Regions from separate parts of the Homo sapiens genome. Here region 1 is linked to region 2. Evidence: promoter capture Hi-C in human tissues and cell types (Jung and others, 2019). All regions are on one chromosome and are shown on one strand. Each heading gives the region's core, a stretch centred on a gene start or on the middle of the fragment in contact. The rest is flanking DNA. Distances are from core to core; before and after follow the strand shown. Region 1 overlaps TDRD1 (tudor domain containing 1). Region 2 holds the start of VWA2 (von Willebrand factor A domain containing 2).

The links. Contacts are between HindIII fragments. The study calls those that stand out against the background at their distance.
Region 1: a fragment that was not itself captured here is called in contact with the fragment with the promoter of VWA2 in region 2 in 1 of the 25 tissues and cell types used here (H1 embryonic stem cells).

The regions. Positions count from the first base shown.
Region 1 is chr10:114,188,960-114,191,659 of GRCh38, forward strand. TDRD1 (tudor domain containing 1) reads left to right here. Exons shown (of 25, transcript NM_001395205.1): 3 at 2,002-2,060. Among named protein-coding and RNA genes, the nearest start is that of TDRD1, 11 kb to the left of the region's middle. The HindIII fragment of the contact is 5,775 bases long and covers 1-2,700 here.
Region 2 is chr10:114,237,963-114,240,662 of GRCh38, forward strand. VWA2 (von Willebrand factor A domain containing 2) reads left to right here and starts at 1,292. Exons shown (of 14, transcript NM_001272046.2): 1 at 1,292-1,607. RefSeq lists an enhancer at 1,203-1,911. The HindIII fragment of the contact is 6,749 bases long and covers 1-2,700 here.

The DNA.
Region 1 (2,700 bases), core at 1-2,500, 49 kb before region 2:
TCTAACATGGTGATATAATTCTCAGAATGTGCGCTTGGGCCTCTGGGCTTCCCCAGGAGGTCAAAACTGTTTTCCTCACAGTATTTGTCTTTTCTGCTATGCCAACTTTATACTAATGGTGCAAAAGCAAATTATTAGCTCAGCTTAAGGCAGGAGCGCCAACCTGAGTTTTTCATCGTCATGCACTTAAAAGGAAAACCAGAAATGCCAACTTCAGTTAAAAATGCACTTGATTGAGCAGTAAAAAGTATTCTGTTAAATCTTGATCATTGTGTGCAGTATTTTTAGTATTTGTGTAATGAAATGGGAATTACTCCTGACTTTTACCTTCTGAAGTAGGAAAACCATGTGTGCAATTGAGTTGTAAGCTGAAGAGAAACTCTCTTCTTGGAACATACTTTTTACTTGAAAAGATGGACACTGGTTATTCAGACTTACCTGGCAAGCATTTTCTCAAAAATTAACAAAGTGAGCCCTTTACTTCAAGGAAAACAGCTGACATATTTTGTCAGTGACAGAGTTCAAGCTTTCAAGCAATTTCGGGTTTTAGGAAACTTGTGTCTGCCACTTTGAGCTTAAGGACTTCCCAAGACAGACTTTTCTGGTGAGATGCATGATGATATTAACACATGAATATTAATATTTTTATTTGGAGACAGTCTCACTCTGTCACCCAAGCTGAAGTGCAATGGCACAATCATGGCTTACTACGGCCTCAAACCCCTGGGCACAAACGATCCTCCTGCCTCAGCCTCCCAAAACCCTGGGATTACGGGCATGAACCACCGCACCAGGCCCTAACACATGAATTTTTGCTATTGCATAATGAAATGTGTCAACAATTGGAAATGCTGCATATAACTCAATGAACCTGTCTTTTCCAAATGACCAATGCGTGGTATTGCAGTCATGCATGCGCAGGAATCCAAAGTGCGGGATAATCAGTGAATTCTAACGTAACAATATGAAAAGTTCCTTGATGTGGTTTTAGAGTTCACATTGCTTCTAACCCTATGCCACTTGTTTTGGTGTACTATTAAAGGCAAATATCCTTCTATTATTTGCCTTTAACAGAGGAGAACATTAAGTATTCCTCCTCGTTGCAAATACCTGTCTCCGGGAGGCCAAACTTTTTTTTTCAGATACCAAAACCAGAAGCAACATTTCACTGAGTTGAAGGCAAAAGCTGTATATGAATCCAGCTGTCTTCTGTTAAGCCAATCATTAATGATATGCAAAAATGTGTAATTCTTCTATATTTTGTTTTGAAAAATATAGTTTTTAAAAATTATCAGCATGTAATGCATTTATTTTTAAATGGATGTTTAAATTTAGTTTTAATTTCTAATACAGTAAATATTGATTGAAATAAGCCATGTAAACAAAAGCTGTGTAGGGTCCTCAGCTTTTAAAAGTGCAGAGGGTTTCTGAAACCAGAAAATTTGAGAACTGCTGCCTTAGTGAATGGAGAAAAGTTCACAATGAGAGGAGCACTAGTCAAGAAAATTTTGAACAAGTCCTTTTATTTATATTTTTACTTTTTTTCAAGACGGAGTCTCACTCTGTTGTCCGGGCTGGAATGCAGTGGCGCTATCTCAGCTCACTGAAACCTCCGCCTCCCAGGTTCAAGTGGTTCTCCTACCTCAGCCTCCTGAGTAATTGGGATTACAAGAGTGCACCACCATGCCCAGCTAATTTTTGTATTTTTAGTAGAGACGGGGTTTCACCATGTTGGTCAGGCTGGTCTTGAACTGCTGACCTCAAGTGATCCACCTGCCTTGGCCTCCCAAAGTGCTGGGATTATAGGGGTGAGCCACTGTGCCCAGCTAAGTCCTTATTTTCTGTTGGGAAAAGTAGGATGTTGCTTATGTTCTGGTGTAGCTATAAGGTCATTGTGGTATAGCCCTGTTACTTGAATATCACCTAATTACACTATTTTTCATTATTAGCAATAAAAAGTATTATTTGGCTTTTATTTGAAATTGTGTTTTTCCTCCCCAGGAAACTCAGTGTCACCACCAAGTGCTGAAAGTAATTCACCACCCAAAGAAGTGAATATTGTAAGTTATTTTATTGTGTGTGTGCTTGTTTGGGTAAAAGATTCTAAACATGTTTTATTTATTTAATAAAGAAGTGTTCAATTTGTAGGTATCATTCAAGATCAAATGTTTTTTCTTTTATGTACATTTTTAAAAAAAGAAAACTTTCTTAGGTTATTGTAGATTCACATGCAGTTGTAAGAAATAATGGAGATCCTGTGTAGTCTTTCACCTATTTCGCCCATGTTAACATGCTGCAAAACTATAGTACAATATCACAACTGGGTTATTGATACACCATCAAGATACGGAACATTTCCATCACTACAAGGGTCCCTTATATACCTTGTTGCTTATGTTCTGGTGTAGCCAATCCACTTTTCCTTCTGCCCCTGCCCTCTTAATCCATAGCAGCCACTGATATGCATATTTCGACAATTTTGACATTTTTGAGAATATTATATAAAAGGCTACATACAAACAGTACGTAACCTTTTGGGATTGGCTTTTGTCATTTCACATAATTATCTGGAAATTGATCTAGGTTGTATGCATCAATCGTTCTATCCTTTTTATTGCTGAGTAGTATTCCATGGTATGGACAACTTGTTTAACCATTTACCTATTGAAGGACACCTGGGTTGTTTCCACTTTTTGGCGT
Region 2 (2,700 bases), core at 42-2,541:
AAAACAAAAAAACAGGACTTTGAAGACAGCATAAAACATCTTTATTGATTACATGTTGAGATAATGTTCCGGATGTTTAGGTTAATACTGAAATCCAGCTTGCTGTTTCTTTTCACTTTTTATTAAATGTGACCACTAGAACATTTAAAATTACACACGTGGCTTGGTCAGTATTTCTCTGGGGCAATGCTGATCTAGAGGCAGAGACCATCCCTCCCCAGCAGTTAGACCTCAAGACTAACTGCTGTCCCCTGTGGGGATGATGTGGTGGTACATTATGTCTGCTGCTCTGGTGTGGCCCTGTTTTTATTTTTGGGTGCTCAGTAAATGTTACTGGGAGAAATGAATTACAGGAAAAATGAGTCCTTTCCTAGCCTCCTTCAATGAGGTTTGCAACATTAAAGTCACCACGGGCCACTTTCACTGGAAGCTGTCAGTGTCGGAGGTTTGGAAATTAACTGAGAACTACAGACAGGAAAGGTGTAAAGCAAATTATTTTCCTATCAGATTGACATTTACAAGAATAATGGGAAGGAGCATGGAAAAGAGGAAGCAGGTCAACCTTCCTTGAGGACAATTAGATAATAGGCATCAAAAGTCTTAAGTTGTATAAAACCTGTATCCTAGAAATTTACCTTTTCGTAGTTTATTCTAAGGAATTAATTGGACAAAAGCACAAAGACATCTAATTGTATTATTAAAATGGAAAGTTTAATATTCAACAATAGCAGATAGGTTAAGTACATTAGGACATTATGAAGTGGCTTAAAACGGACATTCAAAAAAAGGAAATGGAAAACCTGAGTAATGTACAGCTTGTATGGAATGAACTAAAAATATATAAATTTTTGCATAGGTAGAATGACATTGGAAGAACATACACCACAATGTTAACTGATTATCTCTGGGTGTTGGAAAATGATTGATTTATCAACTTTTTTACTGTTATTTCTTTTCTTTTTTTTTTTTTTGCAATGAACAGGCATGCTCTGGCAGTTTTTAAATGAAGTATGGAAATTATGGATTGTGCAGTCATAGTCAACGTTCATTGAGAGCTTACTTTATATAAAGCATCATGCTCAGCATTGTGCTTTGTGGCATTTGATTTTTTAAAAATCAAACGCCCTCCAATCTTAAGCAAGGATGATGGCCAAAAGGTCGGCTTATTACCCAACTGCAACAATAGGAGGGACAGGTAATTAAAAGGCAATTGCCATGACAAATAGAAAAGATGCCAAAGTCAACATTTTTTCAAGGAGCTATAAAGCCCGTGGAGGAGTCAGCTGACGGCACAGTGTTCGCGGCTGCACCGCTCGGAGGCTGGGTGACCCGCGTAGAAGTGAAGTACTTTTTTATTTGCAGACCTGGGCCGATGCCGCTTTAAAAAACGCGAGGGGCTCTATGCACCTCCCTGGCGGTAGTTCCTCCGACCTCAGCCGGGTCGGGTCGTGCCGCCCTCTCCCAGGAGAGACAAACAGGTGTCCCACGTGGCAGCCGCGCCCCGGGCGCCCCTCCTGTGATCCCGTAGCGCCCCCTGGCCCGAGCCGCGCCCGGGTCTGTGAGTAGAGCCGCCCGGGCACCGAGCGCTGGTCGCCGCTCTCCTTCCGGTGAGTCCCAGCCCCGAGTTGGCTCTGGCGCCCGGGTACCCGCCAGTGCCGGCTGCCGATGACCGATTCACGCTCCCGGTACTGGGGCCCCCTCTGCCCAGCCACCCCTACCCAGAGCACCCGGGCTGCGCGGCCCCGCCGAGGGTGCGGGCTTTGTTCGCATTGTCTGCGCGCACCTGAGCGCGGCCTTCCTGGCACGGCGGCGTCGGGGGAAGAGCGCACCTGGCGCGCGCCTCCCTCGTGGCCACTCGCGGTCCGTCCCGGGCGAGCTGGCGGGGTTTTGGGAGGGGTGCGGTCAGCAGGTAAGTGGGTAGGGGCTCCGGGTACAGGGGTGGAGGAGGGCATGTATTAAACCCAAGCTGCCCTCCTGGCACAGTAGCGGGGCCCCCTTCCCTGGCGGCCGCGGAAAGGGACTCGCCCTTTGAATAAAGGCTTTGGTGACATGCTCGCTTCCACCCCACACCCCACTACAGGACATACACAGGTGTTAAGGGGACTTGGGGCAGTTTTCCCAGGCAGAACGAGTGCCCCCAGCGAAGTGTCTGCAAGCAGAACCTGAGAGGGGCCGGCTGCCCCGAGAGTCCTCGCGCTTGGGCAGTGGGAAGTCCAGGGGTTTGTCGTTCTGGTGACTTCCCCCACCTGGCTCAGCCCTGCTTCCTGCATGTCTCCTTCCCTTCCAATAAGGCTAACAAAACTTTCCCTAGCTAAGCCGACCTTTCCCTCCCGCCTTGGGCCCTTGGCCACCTGCTGGGACGGTGAATGGGAGAGTCTCAGAATTGAACCTTGAAAACTTGCTGGGGGCACCAGACAGAAGAGAAGGGAGGAGGGCACCTTGCTGCTTGTGATTGTGGAATCAAGGGCTCCAGCTGAAGCTGAAAGGGGACTTAGCAATGGGGACCTCATGCCATGTGTTTGATGTCTTGGAGATTGGAATAATTAGAACGTGTACATTTTTCAAATTACAAGCTGCTTTAAGTAAAACCCCAGAACCTCTAAGTGTTTTATAAATTCAGTCCCAAAAATTCAAGGTCTCTTTTGCTGTTAAGGTGACACTATATTAAGAAATGTCGATTTATTGAAGAGTCAGAGAAGT